Linked DNA regions of Homo sapiens: regions 2, 3, 4, 5 and 6 are each linked to region 1. The links are contacts of gene promoters, found by promoter capture Hi-C in blood cells and fetal thymus (Javierre and others, 2016). All regions are on one chromosome and are shown on one strand. Each heading gives the region's core, a stretch centred on a gene start or on the middle of the fragment in contact. The rest is flanking DNA. Distances are from core to core; before and after follow the strand shown.

Region 1 (3,697 bases), core at 658-3,157:
AGTTTGATCTTTTTTTTTTTTTTTTAATACTTTAAGTTCTAGAGTACATGTGCACAACGTGCAGGTTTGTTACATATGTATACATGTGCCATGTTGGTGTGCTGCACTCATTAACTTCTCATTTACATTAGGTATATCTGCTAATACTATCTCTCCCCCCTCCCCCAACCCCACAACAGGCCCCGGTGTGTGATGTTCCCCTTCCTATGTCCATGTGTTCTCATTGTTCAATTCCCATCTATGAGTGAGAACATGCGGTGTTTGTTTTTTTGTTCTTGTGATAGTTTGCTAAGAATGATGGTTTCCAGCTTCATCCATGTCCCTACAAAGGACATGAACTCATCCTTTTTTGTGGCTGCATAGTATTCCATGGTATACATGTGCCACATTTTCCTAATCCAGTCTATCATTGACGGACATTTGGGTTGGTTGCAAGTCTTTGCTATTGTGAATAGTGCCGCAAAGTTTGATCTTTTGGCCAGTAGCATGGGCATTACCTGGGAGCTTGTTAGAAATGCCTATCCTGGGCCAGGCATGGCTCACGCCTGTAATTCCAGCACTTTGGGAGGCCGAGGCGGGCGGATCACCTGAGGTCAGGTGTTCCAGACCAGCCTGGCCAACGTGGAGAAACCCTGTCTCTACTAAAAATACAAAAATTAGCCGGGCGTGGTGGTGGGCGCCTGTAATCCCAGCTACTTGGGAGGCTGAGGCAGGAGAATCGCTTGACCCCGGGAAGCGGAGCTTGCAGTGAGCCGAGAGCGCGCCACTGCACTCCAGCCTAGGAGACGAAGCAAAAAACAAAAAACAACAACAACAAAAAACTAAAAAAGCGTTTCCTCAGTCCCTACCCCAGACCTATTGGATCACAATCAGCATTTTAACAAGACCCCCTAGGTGAGTCCTGTGTACTAGATGAGAGGATATATTTTGGATTGGTTTGAATCCCAGCTGAGCAGGTTACTACTGTGTGACCTCAAGCAAAGTGTTTAGATCATATAAGCCTGTTTCCTCGTCCACATGGTAAGGCACCTCAATGGGTTGTAGTAAGAATTAAAGAGGCTGAGGCTGTATGTAAGGCATTTTTCACAGAGCCTTCCAACAAATACCCAGTTAATAATGAAGCTCTTTTCATCGTATCATTTTGCACCATCTACAGCTGCTAACCATACTACACATCCATTCAGGATTCTGGAGCTGCTCAACAGGGAAGATTTCCAAAGCCCTCAAAGCCCTCCAAGCCCATGGGGTAGCGGGAAGGGGATGGGGACAGGAACACTGTCAGCAGTGCCTCTCCGAATACGCAGGATACTGTACATTTTGCAAAACATATTACTTATCGGATGATCTTGCTTTCAGATCTCCACTGCACGTGGCTTTATTGGAAACCTTCTGCTAGAGTCTAGACTCAGCCATGGAGTCTGGTGACCTGTGGGAGGGAGCAAGGGCCAGAATGCCTGCTAAATCGCTCTGGGTCCCCAGCCCTCTTCCTTAATCCCTTCTTAACTTTCCATCTGTCTCTGGTCTCCAGGGGTGCAGAACCACAACCCACCAGACCCCTCCTAGCTCCCGGCCCGGCGCTCAGCAGCCTGGGCTGCAACACTTTCCCCCAGGACCGGGAAGGCGGGGGAGGGGGTTTGGAGGGGGCGGAGCTCGGCCTCCTGCTGCCGCCGCTGCTGCTGCCGCCGCCGCCGCCTGCAAAGCTGTCGCCCCTCTCTCGGATGCTCAGGCTGGGCAGCGCTGGACAGATGGGTACACCCCGGGCCTGACGGATGAACAGTCGGGCAAGTGAACTCTCACCTCCAAACTGGCTCTGCGCCCGGCGGGGGCGGCGGCGGCGTCTGCAGCCCCGCGGTGGGGGCAGCCCCCTCGGTCTACGCCCGACTGCTGCGCGCCGCCTCTGCTCTTGGCATAGTAATTTCAGTTCCTGAACGCACGGAGCTCGCTCCGGGACCGGGCTGAGAAGGACCTCAGCTCGCGGGCCCGCCGGAGCCATCGGTGTGGCGCCGAGAGACGGTGCTTGGGATATGCGACGGGAAGCCCCCGCCACAGCGCAGGCAGTGGCCCCGCCGCGCCGCGGAGCCGGGCAGAGCAGGTAGGAGACGCCCCCTGCGCACCTCCGCCTGGCGGCCAGCGCGGGGGACCGGAGCCTGGTGGTGTGCTCTGTAGGGATGCGGAAGGGATTCGGTCCCACATTTTGCACAGGGATCCTTTGCCTGTTGCTCTTGTCTCTGTCCCATCCTGCGCTCTAGGAGGGGCAGTCTTTCTCGCAGGTGATGAATTTCTCTGCAAGGTCATTGCTCTCTTTGGCTCTGGCTTTGAAGGTAAATGGGAGAAGACGCCTGCTGATCGTGGGCAGGGAAATTTATAATCAATCGGGTCTGCACACTGCGAATATCCGAATATGAGGGGTGTGTGTGTGTGTGTGTGTGTGTGTGTGACATTTGTCTCATTTTCCTATGCTTATCCCCTTTAAGGTCAAAACATAGAAATATATATTACATATGGATGTATGTATGTGTGTGTATATACACACACATACATAAATGCATATGTAAATAGGTTTTCTTGAGGTAGGCAGAAAGAAGAGGAAGGGCGGGCAGGGGTTGATAAAGGGAAATCGTTGTAGAGACATGTTCACTAATAGAGGCGAACTTTGGAACCACATTAAATCAGGGTAGAGACTAGAGGTGATAAACGGTTCTTTCAAGATGGGCTTTAGAAGAGGTCTGAAGGAGCCTGTCAGCCAACACACACAGAAGATCTTCATGCTCTCCAGGCAGATGGAAACGATGTAGGCATCATTTCAGACGCAATAATGGACAGTGAAAGAGGGAAAAAAGGAGAGGTACTTAATATGCCACTGGGAAGTGAATTTTGGGTGATGGGAAGGCATCGAATCCAGACCAGGTTTCAAGGGCTTTCTGGAGGGCCATTGGGAGAAATCACCGCTTGGGGTGTAGGCAGTTCAAGGTTAAGACGATGTGAATGTCCACAAAGCAGCCGAGGAGGTGGGCAAAAGGCAAGGGCTTGGAGGGGGAGGGGAGAAACAGAGCTCTGAGCAGTCACTCAAGAAGCACCCACCTTTGAGTAAGGTGTCTTCTTCCTCTTGGTTAAAGCGGTACTTGGGTATGCTCCATCTAAATATTTTCACAACACATTTGTTTAAAGATCCATTGGACTATGTTTTTATTTTGTTTTTGCAAGGTATCTGGGTCATGGTGGGACTAGAAGAAACTGAAGTGTTTACAACACCAGCAAGATTTGGGAGAGAGGGTTGATTAAGGCTTTGCTTCATGAAATATTTACACATCTCCTGCGTGGGCTTTTGTTTGCTCTTGTTGGTGCTGCTGCATATTTTACTTTGATAATGCTTTGAGTGTACTTCGCCCGAATGTGCTTATTTTCCAGTTATAACCTATTCTTTCTTTTCCCATTGTGCTCACCATTGGCCTGCCCTGAGTAACAATTGTGGGAATAAAGGTACATGAGTCACAGCCCAAAGCAGAAAATCTCTGCTGCTATCTGCAAAAGACAGGAGTTTGCGTTAGAGAATGTTCTTTTTCGAGTTTTTGTGTGTGTTTAGTTTTTCAAGTTTTGTGTGTCTTTAATCGAGGGAATAGGTTATTGATTCAAAAGAGAAAAAAAAAACAGCAATTGCAATTGCAGGCCTAGATGTTATATGATTGAAATTTATTTT
Region 2 (3,614 bases), core at 138-2,637, 530 kb before region 1:
TGCTTCCTGTTCCTTGTGGTTTTAAAGTTGTTTTGTATGTTTAAATTTGATTTTACTCAAATTTCAGAACCCAAATTAGCGCAAGAATCAGACAAAGCATAACTTTCTATAAATATAAAAACAATTAAAAAAAAAACATACAGCAAAAACGAGTTGTTGTTTCCCCCCTCCTCTTCCAGTGCTTAACTAATCTTCCGAATCCAGGCACAGAAAGCAAAGGCTTTCTGCTAGTGGGAGGAGCTTGCTTCTCCATTCTGGTGTGATCCAGGAACAGCTGTCTTCCAGCTCTGAAAGAGGTGAAAATGTGTTAAGCGATGCAAAAATTGTCTTGAAGTTCGCGTGTGTATGTCTGTGTGCATGTGCGTGTGGTGGGTGGGGGGAGAGAAAAGGGGGTGTCAATTCTGAGGGCAACGAGAATCAGAAGTCAGAAAGGTGAGTGGTGTGTAGCATCTCCCTTTCAGAAGGGGCTGAAGAAGAAATTGGATATGATGGTCCGGTAGGCTAAATCACGCTGGATTTGTCTCCCAGATAAAGGGAGGTCTGCAAAGTAAGTCCCATTTCTAGAGCGAAAAGCCTTAGGACCGCTTGTTTTAGACGGCTGGGGAATATTTATTCCTTGTTCCACTGATGGGAAAATCAGCGTCTGGCAGGCGCTGATTGGTGGAAAGGAAAATGGTGATAGTGGCGTGGAAAGAGGATTTGCTGAGCCTTCTCCTGCCTCCTCAACCTGTGACTCTTCCTTAGTAGTCTCCCTTTCACCCTCAGGACCCTTTCCGGCTCTTCCTAGATTAAGAGCAAACGAAAACCTTGAAGATATTTGAACTAAAGCGACCCCTAACGTTGTAACCTGTGACCGTGATTAAATTTCAGCGATGCGAGGGCAAAGCGCTCTCGGCGGTGCGGTGTGAGCCACCTCCCGGCGCTGCCTGTCTCCTCCAGCAGCTCCCCAAGGGATAGGCTCTGCCCTTGGTGGTCGACCCTCAGGCCCTCGGCTCTCCCAGGGCGACTCTGACGAGGGGTAGGGGGTGGTCCCCGGGAGGACCCAGAGGAAAGGCGGGGACAAGAAGGGAGGGGAAGGGGAAAGAGGAAGAGGCATCATCCCTAGCCCAACCGCTCCCGATCTCCACAAGAGTGCTCGTGACCCTAAACTTAACGTGAGGCGCAAAAGCGCCCCCACTTTCCCGCCTTGCGCGGCCAGGCAGGCGGCTGGAGTTGATGGCTCACCCCGCGCCCCCTGCCCCATCCCCATCCGAGATAGGGACGAGGAGCACGCTGCAGGGAAAGCAGCGAGCGCCGGGAGAGGGGCGGGCAGAAGCGCTGACAAATCAGCGGTGGGGGCGGAGAGCCGAGGAGAAGGAGAAGGAGGAGGACTAGGAGGAGGAGGACGGCGACGACCAGAAGGGGCCCAAGAGAGGGGGCGAGCGACCGAGCGCCGCGACGCGGAAGTGAGGTGCGTGCGGGCTGCAGCGCAGACCCCGGCCCGGCCCCTCCGAGAGCGTCCTGGGCGCTCCCTCACGCCTTGCCTTCAAGCCTTCTGCCTTTCCACCCTCGTGAGCGGAGAACTGGGAGTGGCCATTCGACGACAGGTTAGCGGGTTTGCCTCCCACTCCCCCAGCCTCGCGTCGCCGGCTCACAGCGGCCTCCTCTGGGGACAGTCCCCCCCGGGTGCCGCCTCCGCCCTTCCTGTGCGCTCCTTTTCCTTCTTCTTTCCTATTAAATATTATTTGGGAATTGTTTAAATTTTTTTTTTAAAAAAAGAGAGAGGCGGGGAGGAGTCGGAGTTGTGGAGAAGCAGAGGGACTCAGGTAAGTACCTGTGGATCTAAACGGGCGTCTTTGGAAATCCTGGAGAACGCCGGATGGGAGACGAATGGTCGTGGGCACCGGGAGGGGGTGGTGCTGCCATGAGGACCCGCTGGGCCAGGTCTCTGGGAGGTGAGTACTTGTCCCTTTGGGGAGCCTAAGGAAAGAGACTTGACCTGGCTTTCGTCCTGCTTCTGATATTCCCTTCTCCACAAGGGCTGAGAGATTAGGCTGCTTCTCCGGGATCCGCTTTTCCCCGGGAAACGCGAGGATGCTCCATGGAGCGTGAGCATCCAACTTTTCTCTCACATAAAATCTGTCTGCCCGCTCTCTTGGTTTTTCTCTGTAAAGTAAGCAAGCTGCGTTTGGCAAATAATGAAATGGAAGTGCAAGGAGGCCAAGTCAACAGGTGGTAACGGGTTAACAAGTGCTGGCGCGGGGTCCGCTAGGGTGGAGGCTGAGAACGCCCCCTCGGGTGGCTGGCGCGGGGTTGGAGACGGCCCGCGAGTGTGAGCGGCGCCTGCTCAGGGTAGATAGCTGAGGGCGGGGGTGGATGTTGGATGGATTAGAACCATCACACTTGGGCCTGCTGTTTGCCTGAGTTTGAACCACACCCCGAGTGAGCAGTTAGTTCTGTTGCCTACGCCTTTCCACCATCAACCTGTTAGCCTTCTTCTGGGATTCATGTTAAGGATACCCCTGACCCTAAGCCTCCAGCTTCCATGCTTCTAACTCATACTGTTACCCTTTAGACCCCGGGAATTTAAAAAAGGGGTTAATCTTTTCATGCAACTCCACTTCTGAAATGCAGTAATAACAACTCAGAGGATTCATCCTAATCCGTGGTTAGGTGGCTAGACTTTTACTAGCCAAGATGGATGGGAGATGCTAAATTTTTAATGCCAGAGCTAAAAATGTCTGCTTTGTCCAATGGTTAAATGAGTGTACACTTAAAAGAGTCTCACACTTTGGAGGGTTTCTCATGATTTTTCAGTGTTTTTTGTTTATTTTTCCCCGAAAGTTCTCATTCAAAGTGTATTTTATGTTTTCCAGTGTGGTGTAAAGGAATTCATTAGCCATGGATGTATTCATGAAAGGACTTTCAAAGGCCAAGGAGGGAGTTGTGGCTGCTGCTGAGAAAACCAAACAGGGTGTGGCAGAAGCAGCAGGAAAGACAAAAGAGGGTGTTCTCTATGTAGGTAGGTAAACCCCAAATGTCAGTTTGGTGCTTGTTCATGAGTGATGGGTTAGGATAATCAATACTCTAAATGCTGGTAGTTCTCTCTCTTGATTCATTTTTGCATCATTGCTTGTCAAAAAGGTGGACTGAGTCAGAGGTATGTGTAGGTAGGTGAATGTGAACGTGTGTATTTGAGCTAATAGTAAAAAATGCGACTGTTTGCTTTTCCAGATTTTTAATTTTGCCCTAATATTTATGACTTTTTAAAAATGAATGTTTCTGTACCTACATAATTCTATTTCAGAGAACAGTTTTAAAAACTCATAGTCTTTTAAAAAATAATCAAGAATATTCTTAAGAATCAAAATCATTGATGGATCTGTGATTTCTTTTACCATCATGAAAAATGTTTGTCAATTTTAATCCATTCTGATTTTTAAAATATGACTTTGATATGCCCCTGTGATGTGTATAAAGAGACCTATTTGTGGCCCTAAAATGGAAAGAACAGATTAGTCTTTGATAGAGTTACTTCATGTGATCATTTGGTCTCTGTGAACACTGAGGACAGAGAAAAGTGCTTGAGGGCTGCTACTAATCTCTCAGAAACATTTGTATAGTTCATCCATCAA
Region 3 (3,441 bases), core at 877-3,376, 560 kb before region 1:
AAGGGATATAGAAGGGAAAGAGAAGAAGCAACAATAAAAAAATATTAAATGAAGATAACTAGTCACTTAAAAAGCTCTCTTGTTTTGGTTTTCTAAACTGCTTTTTGACTAGTTGGCAGTGTGTTTGGGGTAAGTTACTGGGCCTATGTTTTGTTAGATATAAACTGAAGGGGCTCCACTCATGATCCCTAGATGCTGAGACAAAGTTCCTTAGTAAGTAACGTCAATGATGTCTTCGAAAAATTTTAGCAACCTGTCGTAGGTGACAAATAGCCAGAGAGAGGGAAGGCCTGATGTGTATCACTTACCAGTTCTGATCAATTTCCACTGTATAAATATTCCCTCTGTGGCTACTTTGGTGGGCTACCAACATGATCCTATGAAATAAGATTTATAATTTAATTCCATTGTGTTCAGAGAACATGTATTGTATGAGTTGAATTTAAAAATATTTTTTGAGCCTTGTTTTTTGGTGCAGGATATGGTCTATCTTGTAAGATGTCCAATACACATTTGAAAATACTGTTTATTCTGCTGACATCAGGTGTAGTGTTCTAAAAATATCAATTAGATCAAGTTGATTGATAGTGTTATTTAAGTCTTTTATATCCTTACTGAATTTCTGTCCACTTATTTCATATATTGTTAAGGTGTGTTGAAATCTGTAACTATAATCATACATTTGTCTATTACTCTTCGTAGTTCTGTTAGTATTGGCTTCTTGTATTTTCATGTTATTAGATACCTGGAATAGGCAGAATTCTAAGGTGGTCCCCAAGATCTTGCTCCCTGATGTGCATGCCCTGTATAATCCTTGGAGATTATCCTCAGTGAACCTGGCCTAATCAGGTTAGTCCTTAAAAGGGACAAAGGTTCTGGTGAAAGACATTCAAAGTATTAGAAGAATTCCATGTGAGAAGGATTCCTTGTTCCTGGCTTTGAAAACAGAGGGGGCCATGTGGCAAAATAGAGTTGACCTCTAGGAGCTGAGTGACCTTCAGCTAACAACCAGTGAAGGAATGGAGACCTCAGTTCTATAACTGCAAGAAATTGAATTCTGTCACAGCATGCGGGCTTGGAAGAGGCTCCTGAAATCCAGACTAGAATACAGTCTAGCTGCCACATTGATTTTACCTTTTGAAACTGAATCGAAAATGTTATGTTGAGGCTTCTGAGCCACAGAACTGTGAGCTGATAAATGGGTGTCTTCTAAAGACATTAAGCTTCTGGTAATTGGTTATGCAACAAAACAAAACTGATACAGTGCATAAACATTTTAGATTATTATGTCCTCTTCATTAATTGAACACTTTATCATTATGAAATCATCTTCTGTATCACTGGTAATAGTCTTTGATATGAAATCTGCATTGTCTTATATTTAATATGTCCATTCCACCTTTCTATGATAAATGTTCGCATAGAATATCTTATTCCATCTCTTTACTTGTAACCTAATTATGTTTTTATATTTAAATTGGATTTACCGTAGACAGCACGTAGTTGGGTTTTACTGTTTTATCTAACCTGATATTGCGTGCTTTTTAATTGCAGTGTTTAGACTTTTACATTTAGTGTGATTGTTACATGTTGAATTTAAGCCTCCTGTCTTGTTGTCTTATATTTGTCCTAACCGTTCTTTGCCTCTCCTCTTTTTTTCTTTTCCTACCTTCTTTTGCATTAATAGAGTATATTTTATGATACTACTTATGATTCTCCTTTGTTGGCTTATTAGCTATAACTCTTTATAGACTCATTTTAGTTTCTGTAGGGTTTATAGTGTCCATCTTTAACTTATTACTGCTTACCTTCGAGTAATATTATACTACTTATTGTAAAGTATAAGAACTTTACAAAAGCATACAATTTAAAATTACCCTTAGAATGACTACAGAGGACAATCTAATTCTAAAAAGGAGTTTACAATTTCACGTGTAAATTTAATAACATTGGAAAACACTGCCTCAAACTAAGTTGAAATAAGCTACTATGAAATGTTAAACTACTTCTGTGAACAACAGCATTAAGAAAGTGGTCTGAAATGTAACCCAGGCTAAGGATCCTTCTGTAACATTGCAAACTTAAATTGTTCAGAACTTTCCTGAATTTCCTTTTATCTGTTAGTGTGTTAACAATTTTATTATACCAACAAATCTGTTTGACAAACTGTGGAGAAACAGTGACAGAGATGAAGCAATAAATAATGTGTATATGCAATATATTAGCTTATTATGAAAAAAATAAAATAAAGTTCAACATATTTCTTTGAAATTACAAAGCCTATTATAGAATTGTTTTTTTAAACACTGAAGTAAACACTTAAAATTTTTAGTAGTAAATTGATCACAAAAACCAATCATGTGTAATTTGAACTATCTTTTTTCCTTGTAAATGTAATGGGAAATGTTCCCTTGTCCCCCTTGCCAGGGCGTGCGATGGGGGTGTGGCTTGCTTCTTCTTAATAAAGGTATTCTTTTACTTTTCCCTGTATCTGTAAGATTAATTACATAAAACATTTGAAACATTAGGTGTATTTAAAGAGAAGAAATTATAAAATTCACATTATCATAAGTTAAATATTTTGAAATATTAATTTTATTCCTCCAAGTGTAAGATATATATTTATGTGTTGCCATAGTCACATGTTTACTCATAGTTGAATTTAATCTACTTGTGTTTCTGAGGCTAAGAATGACTTTTTTTAATTAAAAAAGAAAGAAGAATAGGAAAATTTTTTTAGTGAATCTAGAATTATCTTCATTATTTGGAACTAAAAGCCACTCTTATCTTAACAATGGAATGTAAATTAAGGTGCATTATCTTTCAAAACTGAAAGTATCTTTATCTCTGATATCTATTATTTTACTTATTATTTTAAAGCATAATCTGAACTAGGCATATTTTTAATAGTTGCTAATTTTTAGGCAAATACGTCATATTTATAACAATTTCAAGATTCTACATGTTAATCAGTATAAAAGAGATGACAAACGCCTTTGTATGTGGAAATACAGCATGAACAAAGCTTTGTAACTTTTTCTCTTGAATAAATTGAGAACATGGACAAAATTAGTCTTAACCTTTTCTTGAAAATTAGTAGAGAAAGAAATTGTAGCTTTTAAGGGCATGCAATTTTGTTTCTAAACAACAGATGGCACTATCAAATTCTAGATTTACTAAAAATTTTTTCTATTTTTCTCCCTTTTTTAAAATTAAAGAAAGTCATAATAACTGTCTTAGCTTCAGAAACACAAGTAGATCAAATTATAGAATTACAGCCTTTACTGGCATTCAATCTTGAAGAACAATATTTGTAGGATCTTGAATAAAATACTGCTTTTTCAAAATTAACACTTGATGGTAGTTAAAAAGCTGTTTGATCAAATTTTAGAAGTATTAACATCAAAACAAATGAAATCAATGCTCATAATTGATTTACAC
Region 4 (3,633 bases), core at 474-2,973, 580 kb before region 1:
AGACAATCATCAGCAACCCCAATCGACTCTGATATGGAGTAAAAAGCATCCGTTTCTCAGATATACCACAGAACAATCCACAAACCTTGCCTTAGTAAAGGAGCAAAAAGGTCCAGCAGAGACAATCCAGGAAACGATTAGTTACTAAAAAGAGCAAAAGAGCAATGAAACTGCACAACTGTCACAATACAAACATGGTTTTCAGTAGAAAGAAAAAGGCTTTACAGTGTCTTTATCTGGAAAACACAGAAGAAACTAGCTTTGGCTTATGGAAGAGCAGTAATTTCATAAAATTTAGGAAAAATGTTCCTATTTATATTCAATTTTACACCAATTTTCCTAGCTTTAGTAAAAATAGATGAATGGACTGTCTTGAAGATTTACAAAACTGCCAAAATAATGACATTCACTGATTTTTTGTTTTCTTCTACAGTTTGAAAGACTGTTCAAACCTGGTCTGGCAAGTGAACTTTAGTGGTAAAATGTCACCCATTGGATCTATAACTGATAACAAATAGTTATCCAATGATAATAAAAACTGAACAAAGCTAAGCAATTCATTTAACCACTTATAAGGTATTGACCAATAATGACTTTTGCTCACCCCTATCCTAGCTTACAAGGGACCCTGAAATCAAAAGGCTAAAGGTTCTGTATCTCACTATTGATCTACTAAGCCATCTTGCACTTTAACTCCCCAGAGAATCTCAAGCTCATTTAGTGATTTTGGGTATATGGATCAGCCCTTAATTAGAGGTATAAAATACTCCAGAAATTGTCAGAGACCTTGTCTCAAATTCTTCTTTCTGAGACTAATTAATACTCATTAAATAACAATTAAGAAAAATAATATTGCTGAGATGACTGGCTGAAGAGTACTCAGTTTACTCATTCTTCTAGATACTATTATACTAGATACTAGATACTAAAATACTATTGTTGGATTAAACTATATCATCAGTTTTGTATAACTGGACCCTGTCATTTTGCTATACCTCCCATTTCCCACTTGGTTGTTCATATTAAATTATGTTTTACCATCTTGCCATTTGTTCACCATGAATATTTTATAAGATAAAAATCATGAAATTTATTATATTATGAGTTATCAGGAGATTTTTATGTCATTTTTCATTGTATCATAAACATAGGATTCACTATATACTGCAACATGGGTTGTCTGTAGGTGATGAGATAATGGGTTTGGTTCTTTTCCACCTTATAATGCATATGAATTAATTTTCTAACCACAAGAAAAAAAAACAAAAAAAGATTATTAAGTTAAAAGAAAATATAAATGTGAGTTAAAAGAGAATCTTAGATTGAGGAGTTCACTGTAGATGGTGCTGTGTACTATTCAAAGCATTTTTATAGCTGCAAGACTTATTCTTTGTAAAATGTTGGGGGTATGGGCTAACTTCCACCAGATTAATAGGATTTTTCAGCAGCTGTTTTCTTCATTTTTCACATGAGAAATTCCTATTTTCTTAAAATAGTTTAAAACATCCAAAATATGATTTCATTATTACCTTCCTCCATAAGACATATCTGTCAAAAAATAATAGAAGAAAACAAATTTTAGAGCTTTTTCAATTTAATGGTGTTTGAAAAATATTGAAAACCTGTCAAATTTACATGTGGACAAAGGGGGTTATCAACATACAGCAAAAGGGCTGGAGAAGAAGAGAAACTGATTTCTGCATGATTTTGATGAGTCGATGTGCTAGGTAAGTTAAATTTGGCATATTATTTAATTCTTACAAACATGTTAGGTAAGTATTCTATTCTTGTTATACTCATGGGAAGTTAAACTTAAAGAAGTTAAATAACTTCCTAGGGTAACACATTAGTAATTGTTAGAACAGATATTTATGCCCAATCCTGATTCAATAGGTATTCGGTAAATATTTGTTGAATCAGTGAACGAATAGATGAAGCTATGACCATACTCCTATGTATAGTGATAACAAATGGGTTGAAGAGGGCTCTATTTCACATTATTATAGCCACACAAAAGAAAAAAAAAGTAATCTAAATAAATATAATGAACTTGTTCCGGGAACACACCTTCAAAAGTCTTCTGAAATACCCATTCAGTCAGATTGCCTCCTGTAAGTTACTCCTAAAGAAAATTCAGAAAGCCCATTGTTTCTATATTATCTATTCTCAAAATAAATATGAGAAGGTTTATTTTGAAGCCGTCACAGCCACATTAGAATAATAAACCAAAGACTGGGAGTTGTAGAATAAAAGATAATGAAGCAGTAGTGATGCTAGAAAAATTTAAGATAAGCAAATAAATTGGAAGTAAGAAAATTTAGGTTTGAGTGGGCTGGCAGGAAAGGGAAGATGGACAATTAATGAATTATATAATTCTTAATATTAAGTGAGAGAAACATATTAGTTTATCAGGAAAAAAAAACAACATATTTGTCCTAATATTAAAATTTTAACTTTATAAGATCATAAGGAACATACTGATAAAGATGACCAAATGCCCCTCATGAGAAAATGAATGTAAGAATAGTTCACAAAACCATGTCATTGCTGATTTTATATTTCCCATTTACGCAGAACAGTACCCTTGAAGTGAAAGAGTTCAAAACGCATTTCTTTTGATCATTTTAGAAATAACCATATTTTCATTTTCTTAATGGAAAGCTGTATCTGGTTATCAAGTGATTATCATTAGTGACTTCCACTTCTGGAAATATGGAATAGACATATCTCCCTATTCCTTCTGCTAAGTACATCTGAAAATATGGACATTATATATAGAAAAAATAGAATAAGACTCTGAAGAGTGGAGAAAAGAAGGCAGAATGGCTAGGTGACCCAAGGAACAATGAAGCACTGAGTTCCCAAGTTTACTTTTGCCTCATTTCTGGGTACTGGAGAATTTGGCAAACTAGGAACGCCAATGGGCAGAAACAATAAAAGCCCCAATAAAAGCTCTCTTTAGGCCAAGGACTAGAGAATTGTCAGCCTGGAAAGAAGAGAAAGTTTTTAGAAAATAACCACTCTACTCCCACCATAGAGCACAGGGGAAAAAAAAAAAAAAAAGCAAAATAAAAGACAAAAGAACCCACCCTTGCCAGCAAAGCCTGAAGGGAGAATTAAACTTCCACCTCATGAGGTTATAACAAGGTGTCCCAACCCTCATTCTTCTGTTGGGGTAGTCTCAGAGAAGGCCAACAGAGGAGCCAGAAATTTCTTCATCAAGAAGCCTCGCCTGAGTACACTGCCATGGCTCTCCAAAAGCTGAGTGAAAAGAAAAGAATGAAAATCAGTAGCTTCAAGGCATGGCAGGTCTTCACTGAGTGACTTTGGAGGAAAGGTCCTCCAAAGGCTAGAGATAAGGCAAGAGGTTGGAAAGATGTCTTCCAAGGTATAGAAATGCAGGGGTGGGTCTGGAAAGAAATGAGAATGTACTAGAGATTGTTTTAAAAATGATTTTTCGTTGCAAGTAGAAGAAGATTTTTCATTGTAAAGTAGTGTTTTAATCATCCTCTCTTCACCCCATTGGTGAGGGAGGAATTCCCACCCTAAGGTTATAAGAATGGGTGAACACATGATGTCTAGTGTTGAATTGATGAGATTGGAAGCAGTTTATACATAAACTAAAGCCCTGGG
Region 5 (3,847 bases), core at 84-2,583, 600 kb before region 1:
ATTCCTGATATTTTAATAAGGCATGCCTCTATAGCTTGTTGTTAAGAATAAGTAAGATCTTTCATCAGATTTCCATTTGCTCATCATATAAATCCAACATAAAAATGGGGGGAGAAGTTAAAGAATAGCTTATGAGATTTCAGAGTGTTATAAAAGCTACCAAGTTAGAAAGCTTAGAAAGTATAACAGTCCTAGGAGTTTGGCTACATGTTAATTTACCTTGGTTCAAAAGGGGAAATGCTATTCTTTTCTTCAATAGAATCAGTTTCTTATTGTTCAGAATTGTGATTATTAATATTAGAGTGTACCTCTTAGTTGACATTTCGGCCCACTGTATCCAGGACAGCACCTCCAATCCAATGAGGTGACAATTTTATGTTGCATCCTATAGACAGGATTGGATATCTTCTGAGATCTAGAGAGTTGAGCAATTGGAGGGAAATCGATTATTTGTTTCACATTAAATTATCAGCCGGAATAATAAATGTAAAGTTTTTGGGGCAATGCCTACAATATAACAAGCATTTATTTAGTATCGGCTGTTATAATCATAATATTCATCATCAATATTATTGCCTAACTTAGGTTTCTTTCAATACATTACAAAAAGCATTACTAGTTATGGTATTTGGTATTTTAAATTGATACCTGCCATTGACTTTCTAAAGATATTATAGCTTTTCTCTTGATAATACTTCTTGCTAAATCAATGTTAAAATTTATTTTCATTCCAATTTTAAAGTTATATGGAGATAATTTATTCTACTTCAATTCATATGATTTCCTATATTGTTATATTTAAAAAGATCTGTATTTCCTCCAGATCAGTATCAAACAACTTGAAACAAATTGGATATTCGTGATCTAATTGAAATTATGACAACCACTATCATTTTCCCATGGAATTTTTCATCTTCAAAGTTTTGAAATTATGCTACCTACTATTTTTGTCATATAGTATTTCTCTGAGAGAGAGAGAGAAGGACAGAGAGAGAGAAGGGATGTAATATGAGGAAATTTTATTTTTAAGATGAAACCATAGAACAGCAGAAAAGAAATATGGAAACTATAGCAGTTCAACACAACAATCAATATAGTGACTGCTACTAAATTGTGAGCTCTGTGTGTTTGTAAATGTAAGTCATAAGTACAATTTGGCCATATTAGTCTTACCCATGTGACTTTAATATTTAGTTGCTATTTATCAAATGGGTCTGTAAAATGGGTACATACTATCTTGCTTAATTTTCATTTTAGTTTATGATGAAGGCATTATTATTATCCTCATTTCCTGACGAGGAATCCAAAGAACAGAGAGATGAAATAACTCTCTCAAAGTCCCATATCTAAAAGGGGTAGAGCTGTGATTTTAGCCCATGTCATGTGGGCTAGCCTCCCTTGTTATTATCCTGGAGTTTGCCACGTACAACTATATGGAGACAACAGTCACCTACATGGGTAAACCGTGAACATGTGGAGCAATAGCATTATAACAGACCGGCCTTTAGAGACTTACGTTTCAGTTTCTGCTATAACATGACAGGTAACCGAGTATGTCTGAGGCTATTTGTCAGTTGCAAAATGAGCTACAAGATCCCTTCCATCTGAAAAGCATGCTAATCATTTACCCTCATTTATTTCACTAAATCATTCTGTCTAGTGAAATACTATCTGCACTCTCATAGTTAAAGCTAAGTAGGAAGCAAAGCAATTTGGAAAGGGACTGTATATAGAGTTTGTAAGGATGAGCTCAGGCAGTTAGTTGAACTATTGTTGGGGTCAATGTTCCTGCTTTGGCAAACTGAATATCTGTTGCATGTAGCTCAGACATAATAAAAGAAAAAGTGGCAATTATGACACGAGTATTAAAAATAGCGAATGAATGCACCCACTCAGAAGGCATAAAAAAGATAAGATTCGAGAATAAAGATAAATACTTATGGTTTGTTTAAAGAAAAGAAAAAAATAAAAAGAGCTCACCTTGAATCCAGAAGGGCAGTATGCTAGGGGCTACTGTGGTAAATTTTTTATTACTAAAGAATTAGCAATGCATTCTTTGTGTCTCGTATTGGCAAGGAAATTGTCACAAAGAGAGTGAGGGCTGAAAACAGAACTAGAGTTCAGCTCTCCCAAATCCCTAAGATGTGCTTAGGTCTCTGGACCATGAACCTTAGCTATTCCTCAAGGGACTAAGAAACACCTTGATTTTATGTATCCTTATTGTGCACTGTTCCAGATTGCCATGTGTCAGATTCATTGCCTGAGTTATTTGTATGACTATTTGCATAACATTAGCCATCATGGCCTGAATAACAATTGGAGTTTTTATTGCAGGCTCTTTGGAAACACCCCCAGCTGAGCTACGGTGACTACATGAATTCAGATAATTTATCAATTACTCAGCCCCATCTTTTAGGACAACAGCATAGACTTTTTTAAAAAATGATAATCAAATGACATGGCTAATTACAATAGACACAAGAAGAAAAGCTTCACCTAGCTGCTTTTCCATGCATAATTGTAACTAGAAGCTCTCCTAATTTTAGAATATGAACCAAGTTATAAACTTCTTTCTGACCTAGCATGAAGAGAAAATAATAAATCTTCAAAACTGTGCATGAAATTCATAAGCAATTAAGGACAGGATTGTTGACCAGATATAGAGTAAAAGTAATAGTGATAGTAAAAATAGAAATAAGCATGATAATTAACATTTATTGAATGCTTATAAGGCACAAGGCACTAGGCTAAATATAGTATTGCATTATCTCAAATGATTCTAAAAATGACCATATGAGGCAAATATTATTAGTGTCTGCATTTTCACTTACTAAAGCATAATGTGACTACCATCCCCTGACCCTACTATGTATTATGTACCTTGCATGAATAACATTATATATTCCCGGCTATAATTTATTATGGTGCAAAAACAGTGGCTATTTTCAAGAAATATTACATACCTCTGAGGACAGGATCCACCGGTCCAGCCACAAGGTCCTTTCCCACCTGGGACATAAGTGACCTGGTTGTCCAATATCACTGTGGGAGATAACCTGGTATGTACATAAGCACACCAATTCCTAAAGAAGATCATAATTGTTAGGGAAAAAACTGTTGTCAAAAAAGAATTCTTTTCATCAAAATTATTTTCACAGACAAACATTTATTTTTGCCATACTATAGATCAGAAACCTTGTAAGATTGCTATTTAGCTTTAAAATATTTAAATATAAGAGAAAATAACTTATTACTGTATTGCTGTACTCAGGGACTATAAGGAAACACTAACAAGATCAAAATAAAGAAAAGAATAAATCAAAGCTAAAATGAGAAACCTGCAGAGTTTAGCTATAAGATAAATCAAAATGCAAGAATGCTCTTGTAGCAAATATTAATATTAGTACTGAGATAAAAAACTCAGATCCGGGTCCATTACTTTAAATTATGTGCAGTAAAGCATAAGTAAATAAGTAAATAAATGGTTTCAAAATCAAAAAAGAAGAGAAAGAACTGTTATTAGCTGCAGTGGATATGATTGTAACCAAACAAAATGCAAAATGGTCTAGATGCCGATTATTATAATTAAAAAGACAATTCAGCAATGTAATCAAATATAAATGTTTATGAGTTAATACAATACTAATTTATATTAATTCAATCACAAAATTAAGATCAGTTACATTTCTCTGTACCAACAACAAATTAAAAAAGACACTATTAACAGTAGCAAAAAATAACAACAAGAATAATGTACCTAAGAATAAATTCAGCAAAAGAAGTGTTAGATTTAATAAGTAAAAATTTTAAACTTTATTGAAAAGTTTTAAAGAAAAAGCCAATGAAT
Region 6 (3,880 bases), core at 880-3,379, 620 kb before region 1:
CATGGATGTGCAGGCAGGGGCACAGCCTTCATAGAGAACCTCTGCTAGGGTGGTGCAGAAGGGAAATGTGGGGTGGGACCCCCCACACAGTGTCTCCACTTGGGCACTGCCTAGTGGAGCTGTGAGAAGAGGGCTACTCTCCTGCAGACCCCAGAATGGTAGATTCACTGACAGCTTGCACTGTGCATGAGAAAAAGCCACAGACCTTCAAAATCAGCCCATGGAAGCAGCTGGAAGAGAGGCTGTACCCTGCAAAGCCACAGGGATGGAGCTGCCCACCACCATGGGGACCCACCTCTTGCATCAGTGTGACCTGGATGTGAGATATGGAGTCAAAGGAGATCACTTCGGAGCTTTAATATTTGACTGCTCCACTGGATTTCGGACTTGCGTGAGGCCCGTAGCCCCTTTGTTATGGCCAATGTCTCCCATTTGGAATGGCTGTATTTACCCAATTCCTGTGCCTGCATTATATCTAGGAAGTAACTAATTTGCTTTTGATTTTACAGGTTCATAGACAGAAGGGACTTGCCTTGTCTCAGATGAGATTTCAGACTGTGGACTCTTGAGTTAATGCTGAAATGAATGAAGACTTTGGGGGACTGTTGGGAAGGCATGATTGGTTTTGAAATGTGAGGACATGAGATTTGGAAGGGGCCGGGGTGAAATAATATGGTTTGGCATTGTCCTGACCCAAATCTCATTTTGAATTGTAGCTTCCATAATACCCATGCATTGTGGGAGGGACCCAGTGGGAGATAAATTGAATCATGGGGAGGGATTTTTCCCATGCTGTTCTCATGATAGTGAATAAGTCTCACAAGATCTGATGGTTTTATAAAGGGCAGTTCCCCTGCACATGCTCTCTTGCCTGCCACCATGTAAGACGTGGCTTTGCTCCTTCTTCATCTTCTGCCTTGATTGTGAGGCCTCCCCAGCCATGTGGAACTGTGAGTCCATCAAACCTCTTTTTCTATATAAATTACCCTGTCTCAGGTTTTTTTAATAGCAATATGAAAATGGACTAACACAATAATCAATGACTATAATGTAAAATACACACAATACAATGCAAAGCATTTTAGACAGGAAAGTCTGTACAATGGGATATTGCCATCAATTATAGCTACTATGTAGTCTATTAAAGAAAGATCATCCTAGGATTAAAAAAATAGGCTCCACATGTCTCCATTTTGTAAGTAAGTTTTTAACATACATGAGGGACTTACATAAAAATATGTGAAAGAGTGATTATTAAAAATAGAATGATGTATTGTTTGAGCATCTTGATATTGACAATTTTGTACAAAAACGAAGCTGTAAATATGAAAATTTAGATGGATAAACATTTCTCTGGAAATCCTGCACCCTAAAGATCCATGTTGCCAGATGAAAATAAAATGGGAAAGATATTTTATTTTACTTTTTATAAACTTAGTGGAAACTAAAGTAAGTTTAAAAGTCCAAAGATCAATTTGTATGTAATGGAAAAAAGAAAACAAAACATGAAATATAGAATAGTAATCAATATGACACACAGCCTTAAAGTACTAAGGAAAGGCTAAATGAATTAGAAAAGACTAACTAGCCACAATTAAGATAAATTATACAGAAATAGTCCTAGCTTTTGTATCAAATAACATGGATAATCACACCAGAAAGGCTTTAAAGCATTTTTATCTTCTACATTTTGCTTAGCATTTAACCAGTCACCCATTTATTCAATAAATATTGATGAAATACATTCTATATGCTATATAGAGTAAGTAAAATTTAGAAAATTCGATTTCTGGTCTTACAAAAAAGAATATGTAAGTATCATTGAGTGTAAGGTACTATTCAATAGTAATATTAATATTACTCTTTCTATAAGAACATTTAGTCATTTCCCATTAGTTAAAAATGACTCTAATTCTCATGACATCAAAAGCTTGATGAAATATAATAAAATATTTAAGGTTCAGATTCGACCTTCTTTAAATTTATAATCTTACAGTTTTTCAAGATTGAAAGGTACAATAAAATTTAGGCTTTATTGAATTTATTAGTTGTGGACAATGACAATAAATGTTTAACTTCAGCAAACAAAAAACTACATGCCTAAAAGTCCTAATAAGAAAAACAATAAGCAAAAACTCAGCACAAAATCTTGATCAACATAATTGGGAGAAAAAACAATGAAAATGAGTAATGTAAATTACTTTAGCTGTTACACTTTAACACTTTTATGGAAAAATACTTTGAAGAAAGTGCAAAATCACAGCAATGTCTGAAAAGATATTAAACATATTATTAGCTTAAAAATGTGTTTTGGGATCAGAAGCTTTTCAGGTAACATTTCTACAATTTGTTACTAAACAAGCATCTGTACAAGAATCTGATTTCCCAAGAACATGTCAAAGTGCTTTATGTTAATAGTTGAGTGGGCACATCATTTTAATTCTGTTTGTTTCTGTTTCCTGTGACTCATATGCTTCCACTTTCTTAGAAGCATATTACATTTGGTGACTTACCAGATATATTTGATATCAGATACCTTAGCATTCACCTTCTGTAATTGTGAATGTATGGCCTTTTAATAACATTTAGGTACCTCTTAAGGTATCCACCTCCTCTTACGGAGTTGAGACATTTGATTTTCAACAGTTTCTATGGCTACTGTCAGATTACGCAGTGTTTTTCACCTTGGATGTAAAGTAAACTAGGGAGGAAGCTGTGGTTTCGCTAGGCAAGCACAGCACCTTGGAGGTGGGTTTAGTTTTTGTTTCCTGTAAGAATATTCATTAACTACAAGCCCTCTGGTTCTTATAATTAATGACTGTGCTCAGTACACAATTAATTCCTCCTATTGCGGAGGGAGTTTCATTATTAATGCTGTTGCTGTGAGTGTGTGATTTTTCTCCTGTGTCAGTGCCAGAATCTTTGTAGTAGGCTGGTAGGTCACAAAAAAACAGTTGACAGGCTAATTCTGTTAGGTCATGAGAACCAAATCTTGCTAAACAAATCTCATTCAGATGGTTATAGTCAATTACATACTGTTTCTATTTGACTTCTTTCTCATGCTGTCACTTCAGGGGGGAAAAATGTTTCCTTCTCATGCTCAGCATTGGTAAGGTTGGGCCATACCAGATATGTAGGACAGGGTCTTTCTTTTAGTGGTTGAGTAGCAGCAATTATTTATATGATTAAAAAACATAATTGTTGTTGAGCTATGTAAGCATCCATACTGGTAGATGATATATTAAATATCCACCTATTTATCTTTTTTAAATCAATAGAGAAAAGATAACTTGTGAATGATAAAAATTGGGTTGTACACTGAGTTTTTTAATGAATAAAGCAAAAGGAAAAAAAACAGTAATCCTGAAACTTGCAAACAGACAAGTTTCATACAATAAACCCGACTGGGACGCTCCCAGGAATCAAACTAACTGCATGCCTAGAACATCCTTGCCCTACCCGAAACCTTTCTGCATGGTTAACATCAATTGAGATGGTTTCTCTTTCTAGACGCTTTCCCTGGTCCCCTTAGATTGGATTTGTTGCAAGTGTCAAGTGGTCCCATTGTATCCTGTGTATAACACTATCATAACAATTACTCACTATACATAAATCTCTGTGGTAGGCAGAATAATACACACCCCTTTCCCCCAAGGTGTCCATATGCTAATTCCCTGTATCCATGAATATGTACCTTACATGGCAAAAGGGACTTGGCAACTGTGATTAAAGTTAAGCACCTTGAGATAGAGAGATTTTTCTGATTATCCAGGTAGGTCCAACGGAGTTACATAGTCAGAAAGATGCAGGGAGAACTCAACACAATGTAGCTGGCTTTAAAGATGGAGGATGATGAGTCAAGAAATGCAGTGGCTTCTAG

What was found. The method cuts DNA at HindIII sites, captures the fragments that hold promoters and counts their contacts. A CHiCAGO score of 5 or more calls a contact.
Region 2: a contact is called between the fragment with the promoter of SNCA here and the fragment with the promoter of GPRIN3 in region 1, in 14 of 17 cell types (fetal thymus, monocytes, total B cells and 11 more). The highest score is 16.1, in fetal thymus.
Region 3: a fragment that was not itself captured here is called in contact with the fragment with the promoter of GPRIN3 in region 1 in 1 of 17 cell types (fetal thymus); the score reaches 6.4 in fetal thymus.
Region 4: a fragment that was not itself captured here is called in contact with the fragment with the promoter of GPRIN3 in region 1 in 6 of 17 cell types (total CD4 T cells, monocytes, fetal thymus and 3 more); the score reaches 7.1 in total CD4 T cells.
Region 5: a contact is called between a fragment that was not itself captured here and the fragment with the promoter of GPRIN3 in region 1, in 2 of 17 cell types (total CD4 T cells and naive CD4 T cells). The highest score is 6.1, in total CD4 T cells.
Region 6: a fragment that was not itself captured here is called in contact with the fragment with the promoter of GPRIN3 in region 1 in 2 of 17 cell types (total CD4 T cells and naive CD8 T cells); the score reaches 6.2 in total CD4 T cells.

The regions. Positions count from the first base shown.
Region 1 is chr4:89,306,010-89,309,706 of GRCh38, reverse strand. It overlaps GPRIN3 (GPRIN family member 3), which reads left to right and starts at 1,907. Exons shown (of 2, transcript NM_198281.3): 1 at 1,907-2,092. RefSeq lists silencers at 1,828-1,897, 1,908-1,957. The HindIII fragment of the contact is 16,857 bases long and covers 1-3,697 here.
Region 2 is chr4:89,834,934-89,838,547 of GRCh38, reverse strand. SNCA (synuclein alpha) reads left to right here and starts at 1,387. Exons shown (of 6, transcript NM_000345.4): 1 at 1,387-1,586; 2 at 2,856-3,001. The coding sequence starts at 2,881. SNCA-AS1 (SNCA antisense RNA 1) reads right to left here and starts at 2,147. Exons shown (of 4, transcript NR_045481.1): 1 at 1,814-2,147; 2 at 142-287. The HindIII fragment of the contact is 7,659 bases long and covers 1-3,614 here.
Region 3 is chr4:89,868,906-89,872,346 of GRCh38, reverse strand. No RefSeq gene overlaps it. Among named protein-coding and RNA genes, the nearest start is that of MMRN1, 24 kb to the left of the region's middle. The HindIII fragment of the contact is 1,802 bases long and covers 1,226-3,027 here.
Region 4 is chr4:89,889,664-89,893,296 of GRCh38, reverse strand. It overlaps a transcript of MMRN1 not described here. Among named protein-coding and RNA genes, the nearest start is that of MMRN1, 3.4 kb to the left of the region's middle. The HindIII fragment of the contact is 5,697 bases long and covers 1-3,633 here.
Region 5 is chr4:89,908,512-89,912,358 of GRCh38, reverse strand. MMRN1 (multimerin 1) reads right to left here. Exons shown (of 8, transcript NM_007351.3): 2 at 2,964-3,083; 3 at 309-415. Among named protein-coding and RNA genes, the nearest start is that of MMRN1, 16 kb to the right of the region's middle. The HindIII fragment of the contact is 2,318 bases long and covers 175-2,492 here.
Region 6 is chr4:89,928,674-89,932,553 of GRCh38, reverse strand. The region is part of intron 5 of MMRN1 (multimerin 1); the gene reads right to left. Among named protein-coding and RNA genes, the nearest start is that of MMRN1, 36 kb to the right of the region's middle. The HindIII fragment of the contact is 393 bases long and covers 1,933-2,325 here.